Linked DNA regions of Homo sapiens: all the other regions are linked to region 1. Evidence: promoter capture Hi-C in 16 types of primary human blood cells and fetal thymus (Javierre and others, 2016). All regions are on one chromosome and are shown on one strand. The core of a region is centred on a gene start or on the middle of the fragment in contact, and the rest is flanking DNA. Distances in the headings are between cores, read along the strand shown. Region 1 holds the start of NFIA-AS1 (NFIA antisense RNA 1). Region 2 holds the start of PATJ (PATJ crumbs cell polarity complex component). Region 3 has its middle 120 kb from the start of NFIA-AS2. Region 4 has its middle 140 kb from the start of TM2D1.

The links. Contacts are between HindIII fragments. The CHiCAGO score rates a contact against its expected background, and 5 or more counts as called.
Region 2: a contact is called between the fragment with the promoter of PATJ here and the fragment with the promoter of NFIA-AS1 in region 1, in 9 of 17 cell types (M1 macrophages, monocytes, M0 macrophages and 6 more). The highest score is 11.8, in M1 macrophages.
Region 3: a fragment that was not itself captured here is called in contact with the fragment with the promoter of NFIA-AS1 in region 1 in 1 of 17 cell types (monocytes); the score reaches 5.6 in monocytes.
Region 4: a fragment that was not itself captured here is called in contact with the fragment with the promoter of NFIA-AS1 in region 1 in 1 of 17 cell types (M2 macrophages); the score reaches 5.4 in M2 macrophages.

Annotation. Positions count from the first base shown.
Region 1 is chr1:61,251,496-61,255,121 of GRCh38, forward strand. It overlaps NFIA-AS1 (NFIA antisense RNA 1), which reads right to left and starts at 2,023. Exons shown (of 4, transcript NR_104180.1): 1 at 1,916-2,023. All of the region lies in intron 2 of NFIA (nuclear factor I A), which reads left to right. The HindIII fragment of the contact is 2,782 bases long and covers 1,620-3,626 here.
Region 2 is chr1:61,741,230-61,744,855 of GRCh38, forward strand. PATJ (PATJ crumbs cell polarity complex component) reads left to right here and starts at 1,251. Exons shown (of 44, transcript NM_001350145.3): 1 at 1,251-1,326. It overlaps PATJ-DT (PATJ divergent transcript), which reads right to left and starts at 1,555. Exons shown (of 1, transcript NR_185910.1): 1 at 769-1,555. RefSeq lists a silencer at 1,003-1,712. The HindIII fragment of the contact is 6,850 bases long and covers 1-2,922 here.
Region 3 is chr1:60,851,152-60,854,777 of GRCh38, forward strand. No RefSeq gene overlaps it. Among named protein-coding and RNA genes, the nearest start is that of NFIA-AS2, 120 kb to the right of the region's middle. The HindIII fragment of the contact is 4,630 bases long and covers 1-3,626 here.
Region 4 is chr1:61,584,389-61,588,014 of GRCh38, forward strand. No RefSeq gene overlaps it. Among named protein-coding and RNA genes, the nearest start is that of TM2D1, 140 kb to the right of the region's middle. RefSeq lists an enhancer at 3,373-3,626. The HindIII fragment of the contact is 3,726 bases long and covers 155-3,626 here.

The sequences.
Region 1 (3,626 bases), core at 773-3,272:
CATATATGTAACACAATTATGTCATACATTTATTTTGAAGCTGATAATAAGTAAACTGATAAAAAGCAGAAGGTTGAGATTAAGGCTTCTTATTGCTAAAAGATTGATCTTAAGTACAATCACGTGAAAACTGATAGTTACATAACCTGAAAAATCATAAAATACTGAAAAATTATGACTGTTATGTGATTGTTTTCAGTTGTCAGACTACGTGATGTTAAAATGGCAGTTGATTTTTTGTATTAACACAGTGCCTCTAATTTTAAAAACTGCTTCAGCAATCATGTATTTAATGAAAACAGAAGTAACGATACAAAATAACAAAAATATAAATAGAGTTCAGAATTTGAAAATACTGTATTAGGAGGTAAGCTGACTATTTTTCGTGTTCTTTAAATATATTTAGATCAACTTGAATATTAAGCCTCCTACAGCAGGTAGATAGAGGTATCAATTCAGTTACCATTTAAAATACAGTAACTCCAATGAGGAGTTTCTTATAATTATTTCTAATTACTTTTTGATATTAGAAATTAGAGCTATACCAGAATGCTGGGAAAGATGTCTTTTTCAACATTGTATCACAGCATCAAGCATTATGCATCAAACATCAATTCCTACTCACAATATCCATTCAATGTATATTTGGATTATATTTTCTTTGGATAGACCCTCATAGTAGAAACTCTGTATTAACCAGCTTGCAAGATGAACCAAGACTTTTTGTTTTCTTTGTAATATACTGATTCCTTTGGCATGTTGAATTTTCATGGCCAACAGTTACCTACTACCACATCCTAGCACTATTGTTTTTACCAGTTGTGTGCTTACCACGTCAGTTGTGTTATTCCGGACCTGTTTATACTAGTCTTATTTGTATCACCATTGTGTAATTTAATTAAATTTATGTGAACCAATGGCATGCAAGTTCAAAATGGAAAAGTTTTATTTCTATGAAACTAACCCAGTGCCTTGGAAAGAATCAGTAAAGGCAAGCTACAAAAATTTCTGTCAGATTACATGTCAGTGAGATAACTACAGAAGATGAGAGAAGGTTGTAAAAATAAGAGTTTTGTTAGATTATTTTAGAAATATCTTTAAATTCTCCCACTACTTAAAGTAAATGGAACTGGAAATCTTTTATGATGCATTATAGATACGCATTATATAAGAAAGATGCTGTGGAGCTCCAATTATTAACAGACATTATTAAATTTAAATTTTTGCCTCTGCATAAAAAGATTGGCCAAAGAATGTACATACACATGCTCAAAGTTAAAATGTTTAAGGTGCATATGTCTCATTAATGAGTATCTTCTTCATCCATTTTTTCAAATTAACCAATCAACAACTGGCCCTAACAGTACTGGATAAGGTAACTTCTATTCTATTTTGTATTCCTACTCTTTACAGAGTTTTAGAGATGTTTTGTTTCCTACCTACCAAGGGAAAAAAAGGGAATTGGCAGATAGAGTTTATATCTTGGGATGAGATGTGTAAAGGGCCAGGACCTGAAATTACGTGAAGGTTGATATTCTGGGATTGGTAGTTTTGAAGTTCCATAAAGAAGTTCAGTCCAGCCATGTTCCAAATGCTCTGAGTATAGGCACTGGCTGGTAAGCTTAGTGGAGTGTTATACAACATGGAAGTCTAACTGGCAGTTCAATGTCCCAAAAGTTGGACAGAACCAAGAAATAGAGAACATAAGCAGATGACAGTAATCCAGGCAGAAGGTTAGTGTCAGAGAAGTCTGTCAGTGGGTCATAGGGCTCCACGTGCTAGCCTGGGTTTCCGTGCCAGAATTTTGTTCTTGGGAGGCAGGTAGGGAAAAGCAAGTCAACATCTCCAGTTCCAGATGAGCTAGGGCACTTGACCAAATACAGGTACAGAAGTTAGTCCTTGAGGTAGAGCTTACCTGTTGGAGAACATGGCAGAAATCATTGTACCAAAATTGGAGCACAGGTCAGAGGCTAAAGCATGGCTTACTGCTGTGGCTCATGGTGAACTTGAGCTTCTCATGGCCCCTCCTATCTCCTGAGGATGGCTGAGCTCACAGATGGGGACTGTTATGTAATCAGAGGTCAAGTGGTTTAGCTGGGGTGGCAGAGAGCCAGGTGAAGACTGAAAGTGTTCAAATAAGGAAGAGAACAGAATTGCTTTATGTCTGCCTTCATGAAGACAAACCCTAATAGCCAAAGGACTGAAAGTTTGCCCAAAGAGACCTCAATTTTTGAAAGGAAAATGCATCTTCTCCTTATGTTAGAATGACCACGTCTAAATAAAATAAACTCTTTTGCCTTTTGTTGTTACTTGTCTTGGTATCTACCATTGTTTGACACTAAAAAAAAATAAAGCAGTGACTAATTATTGGCTAATTTAATCTGTCATGATGGCATTTGTAATTCAGGTACATCCTTCATTAAAGCAAGTATAGGCATTATTATTTTTAAAACTTTTTTTTTCTATTTGGATTTCTTCTATTTTGTTTGATTATTTATTTTGTTGTTACTGGTGGTGGTGGTGTTTTACAGTGAGACATACTGGTTAGCTCAGCTAAGGTGTTTGAGTAAGACTTCATAAACATAAAGTACTTTGTGTGGGTTTGTTTTGTGTGTTCCATCTTACGTCATTTGTGGCACTGAAAATGAGATTGCAATTCCCAGAGTACTGGGATAGTTCATTCAGAGGTTAGCCCACCTAAGTTTATAGCAGTTGTCTGTAATAGAATTGTAACTAATTTCCACTGTTGTTTTTGGAGAAAACTGTAGACTATAATTATGTGTTAGCACTTTTTAAACAGCTCCCTGCATTGTCATATCATTTTAAATGGGCTCTGTTTTAAAATGACCTTTCATGTTTTGATTGCAAAAATATAGCTTACACAGGTCTGTAGTTAGCAAAATACAAGGATCCAGTAAATGATAGAGCATTGACACAACTCTAGAAGCATGTGTTAAACATCACTGGCACTGCCCTAGGTTTAAAGGGGAAGAAATAGGGAAGTAGAAATTCACTGTTCTTCAACACTCCTTCTGTTGGATAGGCAAGATTAGTACATAGAACAGTTATGGAGCCATGTGAAAAAAAATAGTAGTTATACAAATGTAAAATGCTACACATGAAGTATATTGCATTACCTTTTTGTGGCCTATGGAAAGAAGTCTCAGAGCACAGTAAGATTCAAGTACCATCTCCCAGAATTGGGGTCAGCAACACCATTTTATATTTTGGCAAATGCTACCCACTGTCTCCCAAACGGCAGATATCTGCATATAGTTAGTCATGTGGACACACCCTTCCTCTGCTACATTGCATTGCCATATTAGTAGTAGAATTTTAGTGTTGATTTAAAAGACAGTCTGCCTTAAAGCAGATTGCATAGTTTGCACACTGTGAATTGTAATTAAAGTGTAAGGGGGGCTTATTATGTCAACAACTGGCATGAGAACCCCCGAGCAGCAGGTGACCCTGACCATGTGACGTTTGTGACAGCTAGGATCCCCTTTTCACTGGCTTAGCGATCTGAAAGTCCAAATTGAAAGAAGCCCAGAGGCTGTATATTTCATTAGATCCCAGGGGAAGTACAGGATACAGCTTCCTTCTGTTTTCCTGGGAGGTCGCCAGAA
Region 2 (3,626 bases), core at 1-2,500, 490 kb after region 1:
GTCTCTCTCTGTCACCCAGGCTGGAGTGCAGTGGCAGGATCTTGGCTCACTGCAACCTCTGCCTCCTGGGTTCAAGTGATTCTCCTGCCTCAGCCTCCTGCGTAGAGGGGACTACGCATCCACCACACCCGGCTAATTTTTGTATTTGTAGTAGAGACGGGGTTTCATCATATTGGTCAGGCTGGTCTCGAACTCCTGACCTCGGGTGATCCACCCGCCTCGGCCTTCCAAAGTACTGGGATTACAAGCGTGAGCCACCGCGCCCCGCCTGAAAGTCTTTATGTTGTAGTTGTTTTGTATCTATTCCTCATCTTCCTGGGGACAGGGATACCATTTTACACATCTTCCCACAATCAATCACAGTGTTTAACAATTACTGTATGTACTCTATGAATAAGATACCTGAAGATTGATTCTCTTTATCGTTAATGTGTGGACTGTATCAGGCAAAGTAAAACCCCTATCATCAAAAGCCTAAAGTTATTAAAGGGAGTGGAAGAAGGCTATCGGGACATATTTTTCTCGAAGGTGTGACATCACAAATAAAAGAAAATTAACGTATAGTGAAATCATCACTGTAGTTAGAGTCAAAATGCCTTGCCTGTGTTCCAAACTTTGGGCCAGTCAACCTACAGGGTGCACGGTTTCCTCATTAGTTTCTTCAGAGAGTAAATGAGACATTGCATAAGCTAGCACCTAGCATACAGCAGGCAAATACTGCTGGATTTCTTTCTTCCACTAAATGAGAAGAAAATAATGACTCCCACATTTACACGTTTTAGAATATTTTATTTTGCGTCAGCGAATAGAGAAAACAAAGGAGGGATGAGAGAACAGGAAAGGAAAGGGGCAAAAAGACAAAGTGTTAAGCGGATTGACCCAACGCTTTCATCGATATCCTCCTCAATTTCCTTGATCTTGGGTCTCGCTCTACACGCAGGCCTCCAACCACACCGGTCTGTCCGGATCTCCCTCCCCGTCAGTGGCGGCTGTCCCCACCACGCGCGGTCTGATCCGCCACCCCGCCCCCACAGCCCACTTTTCCCAGGCCCTTGGCCATCCCGCGCCCGGTAGGAATTCACCTGCACGTAAACAGCCAGGGCAACCGTCCTCCCTCCTTGGAGCCCGCCTCCCGCGGCCCCGGGCTCCCTCCCCCGCCCCCTGCGCCACCCCGGTGCCCCGCCCCGGGCGGGGAGAGTCGGGGCGAGGGGAGGGCCTGCCAGGTGAGGCGCGGTCACCCTGGGCCTCTCACTTCCGCCCAGGTGAGGCAGGGCCGACACCGAGCCCGCCCGACCCGGGCTCCCACCTGCTCCTCCAGCGCACCAGGTAAAGCGTGAGGTCCCGGCTGTGCAGTGCGCGCTCGCCCCTGGGTGTCCCCGCGCCTGGAGGCCGGCCGGGGGCAGCTCCCTCGGGGCTTCCCGGGCCTGCCTGCCCTGCCCCCGCGCTCTCCCCGCCCGCCCGCCTGGAGTGGGTGGGAGCCGGAGGTGGAGGGCGCCGCCGGGCGCTCAGAGGGGCCGCGGCGAGGATGGGGCGCCCGCGGCGTGCGTCCGCGCTGACCCGGGAGGCGGGGCGGGGGCGCCGTCCTCCTGCGTCGGGCCCGGGTGACCCCACGGTGGTCCCCGCCCCGCCGCGCAGGGCTCGCCGAGGCCGCGGGCAGGGAGGGGCGCCGCCCCGCCTCCCCAGGCCTTTCGGGCCTCGAATCTCGGCCCACTGGTATTCGGGGGTGGCACGGATCCTATTTTGCGCCCAGATCGGTGCCCCTGTTTCGCTCCCAGAGCTGGGCGGAGTCTTTCCCTCCATCGGTGGCCGTGGAAGGAGGGAACGGGGTGAGGGGACAAAGAGGAGGGGGTGCTCAGAGCCGGGCTGAGGGGGCGACTTGGGCCCGGCCGCGTCGCGGCGCCTGGTCATCCCGTAGCGGAGGTTCCCAAGCCAGCGGTCAGGCCCTGGGCTCTGCCAGCCTTGCTGCGTAGATGGGGAGGTTCTGTCGGAAAGTGCTTCCAGCCTTAGGGGAAATTCCTGGACTCCTGCTTTTAAATCAAGCTCAGGAAAGCATTTTCAGATCACTCCCACTCTCCAAAGCGCCCCAGCCGTCCCGCACGCAGGCCGAATTAAGTGAACACCCCTTCACTTGGCACTTTGTCATATTTCCAAGTGGCTCTTGTCACTTTGAATTCCAGTTGGTTGTTTACTGGCTTGCCTCTGCCATTTAGAGGGTGCCCCTTTCAGGGCCTTATTTTTCGACTGCATTTAGGGTCTGGCTATTGGTAGGTGCGCGACAAGTGTTTCTTAAAGGAAGGCAGAAGCCTTTGGAAACCCAGAAGGACAATGTCGGTTCCACTGAGGATGATACTACCACATTCTGGGCTAAATTCCTATTGGCTGCAAATTAATTTGCACACATCTATTTGAAAGGAGTGGAGGCAGGGGCAGCGGTTAAAAACTTAAATCTGTTTGCAGCATTAGAAAATGTTAGGTGAGATTGAGCCTTTTAGCTAAAGTGAGCTTTGATGTTTTTAGGGCCCCTAATGGCCTTTAAGATGTTAACAATAACAACAACAACAAAACACTCCAAATGTGTTGAATTTATTTGGGAATGAGAAATGAGCGTTATAGCCCGAGGTGCACAGGCCTGGCAAGCCATATATGCATGGAAGAGGGGAGGGTAAAAGGAAACTTTTATTGGCAAAGTAAGTGCAGATAAGCTGCGTGAAAACAGAGTTTATTGGTTTTGCAGACTGAAAGCCAGAGTTGGCCATTGTTGAAGATGCCATTACTGGGCAGGTGTTATGGAGAGCATCTTATCAGGCCTGGCAACCTGCCTCATGCCTGTTATCTCAGCTACTTAGGAGGCTTAGGCAGGAGGATCGCTTGAGGCCAAGAGTTGGAGACCAGCCTGAGCAACATGGCTGTCTTTACAGAAAAAGCTTTTTAAATAGTCAGGTGTGTCGGGAGGTTGAGGCAGGGGAATTGCTTGAGCCCAGGAGATGGAGGCTGTGGTGAGTGGTGTTTGCACCACTACACTCCAGCCTGGGTGACAGAGCAAGAACCCTGTCTCAAAAAAAAAAAAAAAAAAAAAAGGAAAAAAGATTATCTTATCTTATCTTATCTGAATTACTGCATTCCTAAAGAAAGAATTTCTTGGGTGGTTATTTTAGTTCCTTCTTGAGACCGATCTTTATCTCAGACTTGCAAGCATGAGCTTTCTCCCTCAGGCTCTCTAGTTTGTTTGGGTTTGACAAAAAGTGATTTTGACCTGGTATCTGCAACTTTCACAAAGATAATAACAAAGTTAATAAATATGGAAATACTTATGGATAGAACTTATAAAATGAGTTCTGAAGAGATTTGCCCTTACTAGTCCAGATCCTATTAGGAGTAAGAGAAAAAACACAAACTTTTTCCTCTGCTCTCACACCACTACAGTCAACACTGAGGACTTCTGTGACCAAATAAATGTGTGGGCCCATCAGTTCTGCATCAAGCAATAGCTGAGCATCTAACAGTTCGATTCTGAAACTATTTACCTGGGGATAGTGTCAGATCCCATAAGACTGCCCTCACTTCTGATGCCAATCACAAGTCCTAGATTGTTTTACCCCGGCTTCTGACTAACCACCTATAAATTG
Region 3 (3,626 bases), core at 428-2,927, 400 kb before region 1:
AAGTTTGTGGTGATAAATGCCTACATTAAAAAAGAAGAAAGATCTCAAATAAATAACCTAACTTTATATCTTAAGGAACTATAAGAACTATAAGGAACAATAAAAGCAAACTAAAACCAAAGATAGCAGAAATGAAGGAAAAAACAAAGATTATAACAGAAATAACAGAAATAGAGAATAGTAAACAACAGAAAGAAATCAATGAAACTGAGAGTTGGCTTTTTAAGAGATCAACAAAAATGACAAACCTTTAGCTATACTAAGAAAAAAAGAGGGAGACCTAAATAAAATCAAAAATGAAAGAGGAAATATTACAATTGATGCTACATCAATAACAATAATTGTAAGATATAACTAACAAAAATTATATGCCAACAAATTATATGCCTGGAAGAAATGGATATTCCTGAAACATTTAACCTACCAAGTTTGAATGCTGAAGAAATAAAAAGAACAAACCTAAACTAGTAAGAACAAACCTATAACTAGTAAGAAAATTGGATCGGTAATTAAAAACCTCAAAGTGGATGGGGTTAGGAAAAAATGGGGAGTTGCTGATCAATGGTCATAGAGTTTCAGTCATGCAAGATGAAAAAGTTCTAGAGATCTGCTGTACAACAATGTGTATATAGTTCACAATACTATGCTGTACACTTAAAAATGGTTAATAAGGTAGATTTTATGTTTTTCAACACAATAAAAAATAAATTTTTAAAGAGAGATATAAACAATAGCTACAATCTAAAAGCAGTTAGTCATCTATACTAATCTAGATCATCCATTCCAACGGTTTTTCAAACTTTAACTAACAGAGGAATAATTTTTCACTTAAAATTTTCCAGTAAACCCAATAACAAAACCATAAAAGTAGAACTGTGTGTGTTGAGTTGTGTTGGGTGGGAGGGAACCAGAGCTCCTCATTTTATAGACACAGAAACTGAGGCCCTGGGAGGAAAATGGATTCACCCCGAAGCACACAGTGAGTTAATGGCATGGCCCTGGCTACAATCCACATCTCCTGATTCCCAGCTCAGTGTTCTTTGCATTTTCATTAAAGTTCTTGTGCCTAATCTGGAAAACACCCAGATAACCATAAAAGGAAACAGATGAAGGTACCCACAAATGAGCTATGGAAGGAGAGGGAGTTTTTAAGCCTAATCACCAGCCAATAGATTTCCAGTTTCAATGGTTTTTTAATATCAAAGTTGTTTTCATTATTTATTAATGAACTTTTGTTAACATTGTTTATTATTTATTAACATTAATTAAACGAACATTTGAAATTGCACAGAAACAAAAAAGGAGAAAAAATTTATAATCCTACCAATTATATAAACAACTCTTAACACTGGAATATGTCTTCTGTCTCTTAAAGAACAGATTGTTGGGTTTTCACCAAATTGTGCTCATTCTGTATGTTCAATTTTGTCTCATGCTTTTTTCACAATATTATAGCATAAGCATTTTCCATTTGTAAATAACATTTTCTTTCATGACTACATAATATGCTCTGAAGTAGTCATGCCATGCAGAAGATTTTTTTCTAAATTTGTTCACCACTTCAAATAATACTAAAATGAACATATATCCGTGTATATAATGGTTGAACAATGTGTATGGTAGTATACTAGAGGTAGAATTGAGTTTAAGAATTTGAAGATTTTTGGCTGGGCGCAGTGGCTCACGCCTGTAATCCCAGCACTTTGGGAGGCTGAGATGGGTGGATCATGAGGTCAGGAGATTGAGACCATCCTGGCTAACACTGTGAAACCCCATATCTACTAAAATAATACAAAAAATTAGCCAGGTGTGGTGGCGCATGCCTGTAATCCCAGCTACTCGGGAGGCTGAGACAGCAGAATCACTTGAACCCGGGAGGCGGAGGTTGCAGGGAGCCAAGATCGCACCACTGTACTCCAGCCTGGGCGACAGAGCAAGACTTCGTCTCAAAAAAAAAGAATTTGAAGAATTTGAAGAGTTTTAAGTCTTTTGGTATGTAGCATCAAATCACATATATTTTATTTATGCATAATTACATAAACATCATTTAAAATTCTGGAAATAGAAATATAGATAAAATAATATTTGCCATTATTTCTTTGACCTAGAGGCAGATACCTATTGAATATCTTGGTATAGTTCTTCCCCATCTTTTTTGAAAATAAATACATATGCGCACACAATTACCAAATTGAAACTATTGTGTATGAGTGTGTAATAGTTTGATTTTTTATTACCATGTCTATAAATAATACTTAGAGACCAAACAGATTTTATTAATTACAACATATTATCCCAATCACACAGCCAAACATACTCCCATTTTTCCACCCCTAGTATAGCCACATCCACGTGCCCATACCCAAGTAACAGAGAGATTACATACAAGACCACTCCTAATAAGACAACTCTCAAGACACAATCTTGGTTGTAGTTCTCACTGGCTTTCTTCTGAGAAACTGACTCAAGAGTGAATATAGGCAGTTGCAATAGCATTTTTCTAACTGGAAACTTCTACAGAGCTCAACTCAGAATGATACGCCACTGTGCCAGCCACCAGGAACAGTTTTGGGCCCTGAAATATGAATCTCTGCTTTTCATCAGATGTTTCCAAAAGCAGAGTGGTTATGACAGAAACTTTGGCATTAGACTCTCCTGGGTTCCAGCCATGACTGTACCTCCTATTGTCTGTGCAACTTGAATTAACTTTACCCCTCTAAGCCTCAGTCTCTCCATCTATAAAAATGAATGACAGTAGCTGCTTCATAGGTTTGAAGTGATGATCAGATGAGACAATGCATGTAAAGTACTCAGCATTGTGTCATTGCAGGCACTTAATTTTAACTGTAATTATTATTTTGAGGAGTTCTGGCAGCAGCTTTCGACTCTCGCTCTCACAAATATGACTTTCTCTTTCCTCATTGATCTATTAACAGAAAATATTTTTTGACTGATAATTCCCAAAGCAGTCATTATGGCAATGAACACAGCAGTTCAAAATGTTATCATATTTATCTTATCACAAATGTTATTAATAGCTCAAAGCAGTTGAAATTGTCATTAACTATTTTTAATAAATAAGTATATTTCGGCACTTAATATTCCCAGGAGCTTTATATAACAATATTTTCCTCAATCTTCACAAGGCTGTGAAGTATTATTATTACCATTTTGCAAATGAGCAAACTGACATGGACACTTTAAGAAATTTGCTAAAGGTCACACCAGTAGAAGTTGAACAGCCAGGATTTGAGTCCAAGCCTGTTTTAATCCAAGCCCCAAGCCCCATCCACTGGGCCATGGATCAGCAAATCTTTTTCTGTAAAGGACCAGATAGTAAATATTTTAGGCTTTTCAGGCCTTATGGTCTCCATCATAACTACTCGACTCTACCATTATAGCACAAAAGCAGCTATAAATGATACAGAAATGAAGGACATGACTATGTCCAATAAACTTTATTATGGGCACTGAAATTTGAATGTTATATTATTTATATGTGTCACAATATATGACTCTTCTTTTCATTTTCTATCCAACCATTTAAAAAATGTAAAAATCATTCTTAGTTCATGAGCCATATAAAAAATAGTAGGTGGACTATAGATGCATCTTCAGGGAGAATA
Region 4 (3,626 bases), core at 768-3,267, 330 kb after region 1:
GCCCATTGTATGGATGAGGAACCAGAACTCAAAAACATCAAAATATGTACCTGCAGCTCACAACTGATAGCACAATCCATCGGAGTCTGCAGATCAAATCCATCCCGCCACTCACTCCTTTGCATTGTCAGGGAAGGAGGAAAGTGAAGACTGAAGCTTAGCTGGAAGGATAGATAGAATTTAAATGCTTCCTTCAAAACAAGAAGCCTGCAAAGCAGAGAAATAGTCCTATCTGTCTGGGAGGCAGCCTGCTGCAGTTGACTTGAACAGCTCTTTGAGGCCACTGTCGCTTCTGAGCCATAGCTGATTTAGAAAACAAGGCAAAGAAGACAGCAATGAGGCTATACCTCAAACCCTGCCCATCTGCACTAAAACACCTCCCACTGCCACTCTATCAAATGGACTTGGTCGTGGGTTTTGAGATTTTGCTAAAAATTCAGTATGGGTGAAGTGGCATGCTCCTGTAATCTCAGTTACTTGGGAGGCTGAGGCAGGGGGATCGCTTGAGACTAGGAGTTTGAGATCAGCCTGGGCAACATAGCGAGACCCTGTCTGAAAAAACAAAACAAAATAAAAATTCCAGCAGTATGAGTTGGGAAAGTTAATAGCTCTTTGAGCATCAGTTTCTTCTTTTGTAAATAAAAAGAAATATGCCTGATTCACATTTTGTTGAGAAGACTTAATGTGCTAATTTTATAAAACACCTAGCACAATGCCTGGCACAGAGTAAGCATTCGATAAATATGCGATCCCTTTCCCTCCACACAGTTGCACAGTTGCCTCCCTCGCTGGACTGTCATATGCATATATGCATCTTTGTGTCCCCAGCTACTAGTACAGTACCTGGCAAAGAGTGCTAAAGTACCTGGGAAAGAGACAGGTAAACTCTGTCTACATACAGTGCTGATTCATTACTCTGGGCTCAGAAATACTTCTTAGGTTAAATAAAACAAGTATATATGCACATGCATAAATCCATTGTAGTGTCAAGTCAGCGTGTGCTTTCTCAGGGCTGGTCATCCCATGCACATAAAGAAGCGCCAACTCTCTGGCAAGGCATCCTGGTGGGCCACTCTCTCAGTCTGAAAGCTGCCTTGATTTGTTTACTTCAACAAGGTTTCATCTTTCTGCCATGTTTTCTTTTTCATTCTGGTGCGCTGTGTGTCCCATTACCTTAACAAGTGATAGTGCTTGAGTTGCCACTAAGGGTCCGAAGGAAAAGTGTTGTGCTGGATGCCAGTGTTCATGGATTGTGGCAGCACAAGGCAAGTTCAGTCTAGGAAACAGGTAACAAAGCTCACGAGGCTGTTAGGGAGGTCTGATTTTTACGAAGGGCTTCGTGTCCATCACTGAAGCCTGGAGGATTGACTAGTAATTGTATGAATGGGATCTGGAAGGAACTATGGTCTGAGGCTTGTCATGACTTCAGGGGTTGGCACCGTACAAAGCCCCATAAGGATCACGCAAAGGCACCCAACCGTGCTAATTCACCCTTTCCGGGAACTCAGCTCCCCCGCCCAGTATTGCTTGCCAGGGTGTGCCCACAGGCACTCCCTGCATGTGGCTGCAGGAACCAACTATGAAATCCACCTATGTGTTTTCTAGTGAATCTGGCCCTGATTTTAGCAGACAGCACTAGCTGTCATCTGGTTTTTATTAAATTCCATAAGTAAGAGAGTAATTCACACTCTAAAATGTTACACTATGTAAATAGTGAGACTGATTGAAAACTATTTTGTTATTTTCTGCTTTTCTCTATTTTGTGAATTTTCTTTAATGAGCATTGAGTACTATTTTATATATATATGTTTACATATATGTTTATATATATGTTTATATATATATATATATGTTTTAATTCAAAGGATAATTCATGGCAGAAACAGAAGTATAGGGACAGAAATTTCCATTACCGGAGGCTTTGAGAACCATATTCCTGCAGCTCTAATGAACAGAAAGTCATTTCACTGGGATGTTTTCCTCCATTTTCTGTGAATTTGAGTGAGCTTCCTTCCAAGAATGCAATTGAAGACTGGGACATACATATTGTAACCAGTAGCATGAGTTATTGATTGAATTCCCTGGCACTTCCTTTAGTTTGAATTCTAGGTAGAGTTCTTGGAAAGTGATGGCTTTTCGAGAGCTGGGCTTCCCTAGCATGGAATGACAAGTCACATAACAGCTCTTTGTCCAGTCATATACTGAGCATCACCTGCGTATCAGGCACTGTGCTGGGCACCAAAGATGGAAAGATAATTCGTGTCTTCACTGTAGTAAGGTAGATAGGGGCCAGGCATGGTGGCTCACACCTGTAATCCCGGCACTTTGGGAGGCCGAGGCAGGCGGATCACCTGAGGTCAGGAGTTCAAGACCTGCCTGGCCAATGTGATGAATCCCCGCCTCTACTAAAAATACAAAAATTAGCTAGGCATGGTGGCGCGTGCCTGTAATCCCAGCTACTCAGGAGGCTGAGGCGAGAGAATCACTTGAACCTGGGAGGCAGATGTTGCAATGAGCCAAGATCATGCCATTGCACTCCAGTCTGCGTGACAAGAACGAAACTCAGTCTCAAAAATAATAATAATAAACAAGAAAAAAATAAGAAAGGTAGATAGGAACACAACATAGCTGTACTAGGGGTGAGTTATGTACAAGAGGGTGTGGGTGAGTGGCCAGAGCAGGTTTCACAGAGGCCAGGACATGTCAACAGTCTTCACTTTAGAGTAGGAATTTGCTAAGAAGACCAGAAGTCTGGTTGGCTGGCAAAGAGATGGGTCAGGGTAAGGGGAGTCCAGCAGAAGGAAAAGTATGCATACAAGCATGGAAGCATGAACTGGCTGGCCTGTGGGATCGTCATGACCCCAGGATCAAACTCATATAAGTTTCTCCAAGACATAACAGTTCTTGTCTCAAGTAAGACACTAGGAGAGTAGGCCACTAGGAGCCCCAATTCCATCAAACACCTCCTAGCCCTGTCATGCACCCAGCATAAGCACAGGGGATGATACAAGAAAACAGTGTGATATCACCATCCCAAGTTGCTGCGGATCAGAGAGCTGTCTTACTGTGATGCTTAATTTTTGGTGAACTTACAGAAAAAAATTCAAAAAGTCTGAGGCTGCCCATTAGGAATGAGAAATTGCATATGAGGGTTAGCATGCTAATTATGTTTTGTGTAACCTACTGGACACACTGGGATGGCTTTTCCTGAAAGAAATTATCTGAGTCCTACCTTACCACCTAGACAAACGGGAAAGGAAAGGGGGTTGATTCCACCAACAGTGTGTGCTTGTGACTTAGGCGGCTTTCCAGTCGAAGAAATACAAATAATTGTAAGGCAATTTTAATCTTTACTGAACTCTCTTGAAGCCTATCAAACGGAATCCCAAATGCACAGCAAAACATCTTAAAATTGCCTTTCCCTATCTCTCTCAAGTCATATATATCACACGTTTATGGCTCTCTCCTCCTAATTTTTTTCCTCCCTCTTTCCATATTCCTCCCAAACTCTCTTAAGCTCAACTACAAGAACACTTGTCTTTTCACCCCAGCCCCATTCCCCGCTTTCTGGATTTATTCCTCTGGTGGCTAGTAGATCTCTCTCCTTTCTAAAGTAAATCAATTTC